Regions from separate parts of the Homo sapiens genome. Here region 2 is linked to region 1. The links are contacts of gene promoters, found by promoter capture Hi-C in blood cells and fetal thymus (Javierre and others, 2016). All regions are on one chromosome and are shown on one strand. Each heading gives the region's core, a stretch centred on a gene start or on the middle of the fragment in contact. The rest is flanking DNA. Distances are from core to core; before and after follow the strand shown. Region 1 holds the start of ZNF565 (zinc finger protein 565). Region 2 holds the start of VRK3 (VRK serine/threonine kinase 3).

What was found. The method cuts DNA at HindIII sites, captures the fragments that hold promoters and counts their contacts. A CHiCAGO score of 5 or more calls a contact.
Region 2: a contact is called between the fragment with the promoter of VRK3 here and a fragment that was not itself captured in region 1, in 2 of 17 cell types (fetal thymus and total CD8 T cells). The highest score is 6.8, in fetal thymus.

Annotation. Positions count from the first base shown.
Region 1 is chr19:36,214,084-36,217,740 of GRCh38, forward strand. ZNF565 (zinc finger protein 565) reads right to left here and starts at 582. Exons shown (of 5, transcript NM_152477.5): 1 at 539-582. It overlaps ZNF146 (zinc finger protein 146), which reads left to right and starts at 1,023. Exons shown (of 4, transcript NM_007145.3): 1 at 1,023-1,113. RefSeq lists enhancers at 537-966, 1,077-1,266. The HindIII fragment of the contact is 1,032 bases long and covers 770-1,801 here.
Region 2 is chr19:50,023,734-50,027,112 of GRCh38, forward strand. VRK3 (VRK serine/threonine kinase 3) reads right to left here and starts at 1,639. Exons shown (of 15, transcript NM_016440.4): 1 at 1,534-1,639. It overlaps ZNF473 (zinc finger protein 473), which reads left to right and starts at 2,272. Exons shown (of 5, transcript NM_015428.4): 1 at 2,272-2,389. RefSeq lists enhancers at 945-1,446, 1,496-1,575, 1,916-1,965, 2,376-2,425. The HindIII fragment of the contact is 2,425 bases long and covers 1-2,276 here.

The DNA of each region.
Region 1 (3,657 bases), core at 36-2,535:
TCACACTCACACAAGCAACCCACACAAGCAGTGGCACCCCACTCCCGCATACACAGCACCACACACATACACACAAACACACACACCAAGGGATACAGGAATACACAAGCGGCGTCACCACACAGTCACAGGCACAGGCAATTGCACACGGCCACAGTGTCACACAACCAAAACCACGCACACACCTTGGAGACATGAATCACAACCGCACACCCGCAGTGGTCACACAGTCACAACTGTACTCACACCCCAGGAACAGGGCGAACAGGCCACATATACAACGGGGACACACGCAGTATCACCCCCGGTCACAAGGACCCTGCACCCCGATACTCTCTATCACACATGGTTACACAAAAACCACCAGACACCCTGGAGACAGGCGGTTACACGTGCACAGTTGCAGACACCCACACCCAGCCACACAGCCACAAAGACACATTCAGAACGGCGCATCCGCAGCCAGCTCCCGCCTGCGCGCACAGATTCGAGGCTCCGGACACGCCCCGGCCCCGCCCAGGACTCCCAGACCCCTCACCTTCTGCCTCCCCTGGTCGCGTCCGGGTCCTTGCGGAGCTAACTAGCTCGCCACGACGTCAAGAACGACGTAACGTCAGGCCGCTGTGGGCTCTGGGAATTGTAGTCCAGAGCTAGATCGGCCACGGACAGAATGGCGTTCTCTTATCTCTGAGTCGGGGCCTGGCTCGTTTTGACATTTTTGCGCCCACGAGTCTTCGGAGAGGGCGTCGCCACTCCAGACCTTCCAGCAAGCTTGAAGTCATCTGACGCTAAAGGACTACTTACCTCAAGAGCTCCATCGTCACAGAAGGAGGCGGCCAAGTTCGCGGGGGGAGGGGAGGAGACAGAGAGTCGACCAGTAAAGCCTCAAGGGAAATGTAGTCCAAGGCCTGAGAAGCGACGTTGCTGGTAATAGAAGGTAATTCAGTACCAGCCTGGGCCTGGCCGCGGTGACCGAGGCGGGCCGCGTCGCGGAGACTTCTGGGAGTGCTTCCTCGCTCTCCGAGTGCGCAAGCGCAGCGCACCGAGTGGACATTTTGGTCTTTGTCCGCGGGTCAGTACGGCCCCTGGGTCCACGTGGCGCGAAAGTAGGAGGTGGGATCTGGGCGTCTCGGGTCGGTCGGACCGGGGAGGTTAAAGGGGAGGATTCCTGATCTTTAGGGGCGCGGCGCGAGGGCAGGGAGTGGGTGTAAGAGCTTCTGGCCTACGTGCGGGGCGGAGATGGGGGCCTCTGAGGCGGGTTTGAGCGAGTGTGACCGAGTTTGTCCTCAAAGTTTGACCTGATGTTTGGGATTGTTGAGTGAATGTGAAACTGGGTGCGGGATTGTGTGTGATTGTGCCTAAGAGGGAGATGTAGGAGACCAGCATTGAGGTATAACGTTTGAGCTGCACTTCCCTTGTCGAAAGTGCTGATAATTATAACGGTGCCATCTTCCTGGAGCGTCTTTTTTACTTGAAAATTGAAGGGGTGGAAAAGCTAAGTGGTGAATAATTTTAAAACGAGTTTTTATATAAAAGCATTTCTTTTTAATTGGAGTGGCATGCAAATCACCGTGACTTTTTTTTTTAATTAAACGAGAGTGTTTCGAAGGAACTTTAGTTTCGGGGTGCCTACTTCAGACTATTCAAATCCCCATCTTTGGGGTACTTAAATAGGGCTGTTAAGCAAAGCCCTAGACTAAACAGCATTGTACGCTTTGAGAAGCAATCCCATATAACGGCGCCCAGGATGAGGGAGTCAACGGTTTTAGGTTAGGCACAGTTATCCTCATTTTTTGAAGAAAGCTTAATTGTTGCAGTGTTTATCTATGAGTCTGGACTAAATCCTAGGTGTCTTAATTCCTTAATGAGTCGAGGCGTTCTCAGGTTGTATGGATTTTGTGAAGTAATGGAGAATGCTACTGACGTCTCCAAAGATGCGTTTTCTAAGGAAATCACCCCGCCCCCGCTGTCGTCATTGACATAGTTTTAAATTACAAAAAGTTAAATAAAGTAATTGGGTACCAAGTTAATATCTATAAATAAATAGCCTTCTAATTTACAAATATCAGTTAGAATACATAGTTGAAGAAAACTAATATTTACAATAGCAGTAAAAAGATAAAGTATTGTGGAAGAAACTTAAAGGTTCAGAACTATTAGGAAAGAACTTTAAAATACTACTAAGGGGCATAACAAATGTGAACAAATAAATATACCATGTGACATTAAGAAGTGTGCGCAAACTTAAGTGAATGTATTAATTTACTGTGATCTTGGTCGGGTGCGGTGGCTCATGCCTGTAATCCTAGCACTTTGGGAGGCCGAGATGGGTGGATTACCTGAGATCAGGAGTTCGAGAGGAGCCTGGCCAACATGGTGAAACCCTGTCTCTACTAAAAAAAAATAAAATAAAAAAATACAAAAATTAGCCGGGCGTGGTGGCGGGCGCCTGTAATCTGAGCTACCGCGGAGGCTGAGGCAGGAAAATCGCTTGAACCTGGGAGGCGGAGGTTGCAGTGAGCCCAGATCTCGCCACTGCACTCCAGCCTGGACAAGAGCGAGATTCCGTCTCAATAATAGTAATAATGTGATCCTAATAAAAGTATGGACAGGCTTTTCTCTTTTGGAACTAGGGGAACTGATCCTAGACTTACTATGGAAAGAGACAAGCTGCAAGAGCCAGTACAGACTGAGAAAGAAAAGGCGTTGAGGTGTGGGGAGATGGGGACCCAACACATTTTAAATATAAAGCCTCAGGCCGGGCTTGGTGGCTCACACCTGTGAGCCAAGGCAGGAGGATGGCTAGAGTCCAGGAGTTAGAGACCAGCTTGGGCGACATAGTGAGATCTCCCGTAGTCCTAGCTGCTTGGGAGGCTGAGGTGGGAGGATCACTTGAGCCTAGGAGGTCAAGGCTGCAGTGAGCAGAGATCCTGGCGACAGCATTCCAGCTTGGTGGACAGCCAGTCCCTGTCTTTTTTTTTTTTTTTTTTTTTTTTTGAGATGGAGTCTCTCTCTCTTGCCCAGTCTAGAGTGCAGTGGCCCAATCTCTGCTCCCTGCAACCTCTGCCCCCCAGGTTCAAGCGATTCTCTTGGCTCAGCCTCCCGAGTAGCTGGGATTAGTTGCCTGCCACCACACCCGGCTACTTTTTTTGTATTTTTAGTAGAGACAGGGTTTTACCATGTTGGCCAGGCTGGTCTTGAACTCTTGACCTCAAGTGATCGGCCCGCCTCGGCTTCCCAAAGTGCTAGGATTACAGGCATGAACCACGGTGCCTGGCCGACCCTGTCTTAAGAAAGAAAGAAAGGAGAGAGAGAGAAGAAAGAAAAGAAAAACAGTTCATGCCCATCAGTGGGAGATTGGTGTACATCGATACAACAAAATAATACATAGCTGTACAAAAGAATGAGGAGGAAGCTCTTTATATACTGAGACAGAAATAACTTCAAAATGTATTGTTAACTGAGAGAAAGCAAGGTGCAGAATGTAGAGTATGATACACGATGCATTTGGAATAAGAAAAGGGGTAATAAGAATATGTATTTATAATCCCAGCACTTTGGGAGGCCAACGCAGGCGGATCACCTGAGGTCAGGAGTTTGAGACCAGCGTGACCAACATGGAGAAACCCCGTCTCTACTAAAAATACAAAATTAGCC
Region 2 (3,379 bases), core at 389-2,888, about 14 Mb after region 1:
GTGGGTGGGGGGGGTCCCCAGCTGTGTCAGTACACATTCATCTCTCAGGCAAATCTAGACATCCAGCCAGAGACTCAAAGCTCAGGGCCGGAATTATCTAGCTGGATGGTCCCTAAAAAAGACGTGCCACTTAGAAGCAGATCAGTACAGGGGTTAAGAGGATAAACTTGGGAAATAATCTGCCTGGGTTTGGATCTTGCTTCTGCCATGTATTGCATGATGGACAGAGTTTTGCTATGTCACCCAGGTTGGAGAGCAGTGGCACGACCTCAGCTCACTTGCAACCTCCGCTTCCTGGGTTCAAGCGATTCTCCCTGCCTCAACCTCCCGAGTAGCTGGGATTACAGGCGCATGCCACCATGCCCGGCTAATTTTTTTATTTTTAGTAGAGATGGGGTTTCACCATGTTGGCCAGGCTGGTCTCGAACTCCTGAACCCAGGTGATCCGCCCACCTCGGTCTCCTAAAGTGCTGGGACTACAGGCGGGAGCCACCGTGCCCAGCCAAATTTTTTGGATTTTAGAACCTATTACATATTACAACACCGGCGAGATCCAGGGGCAACTCTCCATAAGTATATGATTTGCACAACAAAATCTTTAAAAATTCTAAATAGTCACACATCAGTTCAGAGTGGGTATTGCCAGCAAACAAGTTCAAAGCCAGGTGAGGTTGGCCTGCCAAGTAAGTTGCAAAACAGAGAAAAAGACCTTTCAGTTTTCAGAACGTTTTGGATTTTAAAGTTATAGATAAGGGACTGCAGACCTGTAAATATTCTTTAACATTTCTTTTTTAGTGTCTGGCATCCCCAACCACCCTGAGAATGTGAATTAGCTGGGCAGGATTTTTGTTTTAGACACTGCTATAATAACCTGGGCTTGAACAGTGCCTATTAGACTAGCACCGTTCAAACCCAGGTTATAGTAGTGTAATATCGGTTGCACGGAGCCTTCCATATAGTAAACGCTCAATAAAATTGGATGTGCTGAAGTCACCTATGCAATGGCCAGGTCAGGACTTGAAACCCTAAGACTCCAACCCTCAGGCCAGTCTTTATCTTAATTTATTTGACTTATTCAACAAATGTTTAGGGAACAGCTGCTATGCGTCAACTACTGTATAGTGTTCCTCCTAGAAAGTTCAGGAAACAGCACAGCAAAAAGGCTAAAAGTCAGACCCCACCTCAGCGCAGGTGGGGCGATTGCCTAGGCGACGACAGAGCCTCCCTTCGGCCGCACCTCCATAGAAACCACGGGATGACTTAGACGCCAAGTTTCACAGCGGAGGAGCTGTCGAACTTCCCACAAGTTCCGCCCATCTCCGCCTTAGCCATGCCCAACACGGAGCCCAAGGTGGCTTGGGAAGCTCAAGAGGAGGCCAGTGAACCCCGCGACCCGGAGCCGCTCTCATTCCGAACCCCGACAGCAGGGGCCTCCGCCTCCCACAAACGGTCGTGCTGACGTCACGGACGCCCCGGCCGAGCTGCGGCTAGGGGGTCGGGGGACGTCCCCTCGTTCGCCTCGCTTCCCCTCACCTCTGTACTTGGGGACTGGGGTGGGATTCTGGGCTTCTGCAGCCTGACCCTCGGATCCTCCGCAGTTACCCGGACTCACCTTCTCAGTTGCCCAGCGAAAACTTCCGCTGGGCGGAGAGCGCTGCGCGCGCATCCTGAATCTGAGGCGCCCGCGCAGGCGCCGCTGACTTCCTGACGGCCCCTGGGCTTCGCCTGCCTGGGAACTCCGTTTCCCAGATGCCTCCGCGGCAGGCCCGCCCTCTGATTCCAGACGGAATGGGGATTATTCCCTCATTGCTCATCCCCCTCCCCTCCGTTCTAGCCGCTTTGGAACGCCTTCTGGTTCTACTGCGCATGTGTCAGTGTCAGACCAATCGGAATGCACCGTGAGGTACCTCTCCACCAATCAGAGGTCACATTACCTAAACTTCTGCCTCAACTCCGCCCCTTACTTCCGCTTGTTTTCTCAGAAACCCGTCACAACGCGTTTCCATGGCAACCTACCGCTTGCTCTTCGGAAAAGGTTAACACTCCCTGACTTCTAGTAAAGGCAAGAAGCTAATTAGATGATTCTTTAACAAGGTAAAAATCTGGACTACAAACTGATGCCGCCTGGTCCTGATTCTCTTTCTACTCTACTCCCACAGTGCTAAGGCTGAAGAAGCAGGAGGAGATGGGAAGGCGAAAGAAGTCGCCCGCACAGCCCTCTGGGAAATAGAGTCCTGGCGCTGCCGCGGAGGATCCTGGGTGCAGCCGCTCAGAGAAGCTTCTCGCGCACAGGAAGTCGCTGCGAGGAGGCGCGTGTGCGGGGAGTTGAATCTCCCGCTCCCTTGAGGCTGGGGTTGCGTCTGTTGACGCGGCCGACTACAATCCCGAGGTACGGAGACGCTGGGGCTGAGGGACTTGCGGGCTCGGTCCTTCCTGAGAGGTGACGGAATGCAAGTGGGGGCGACTTCGGCAAAGGGTGCGTCGCCTTGGGCGGCGGTTGTCAGGGTGAAGGTGTGAACCGTCTTTCACAGTCTGTTATGAAAACCGCTCAAGGTCTGGGCACGGTAGATCACGCCTGTAATCCCAGCACTTTGGGAAGCCTTGGCGGGGGGGATCACTTACAGCCAGGAGTTCCTCGAACCCCCAGTCTCTACTAAAAATACAAAAATTAGTTGAGCGTGGTGGCGGGGGCCTGTAATCCCAGCTACTCAGGAGGCTGAGGCAGGAGAATCGCTTGAACCCAGGAGCTGGAGGTTGCAGTGAGCCGAGATCGCGCCATTGCACTCCAGCCTGGGTGACAGAGCGAGACTACATCTTAAAAAAAAAAAAAAAAAAAGAAAGGAAGAAAACCACCTTGGGAGGCTGAGGTGGGCGGATCGCTTGAGCCCAGGATTTCGAGGCTAGCCTGGGCCAGATGGTGAAGCCCTGTCTCCACAAAAGAAGAAAAAAATAGAAAAATTAGCCGGGCGTGGTGGTGCGCCCCTGTATTCCTAGCTAATTGGGAGGCCGAGGTGGGAGGATTGCTTGAACCCAGGAGGCAGAGGTTGCAGTGAGCTGAGAAAGAAAAGAAAAGAAAAGAAAACTGCTAAAGGGGTTTCCAGGCCTCCCTGATGGCCCTGAGAGGAGTGGTTCTGTTTTATTTTGGTTTTGGTTGGGGAAGGAGGGGAATGAGTTACCTGAAGTTGGCAAATTTAGGCAGAATCTTGCTGGACGATGGATGGGAGTTCTTCGGGAAGTTGAAGTACTTAACATTTACAGTATTTGAGTGCTTTCTGTGTGCCAGGCGCCCTGCTGGAGTTGCATTTCCTCTTCTGATCCCCGCAGCAGCACTGAGACATAAGTGCAGGTCCCCTTGGCACCAAGGCAATCTCGGGAATCA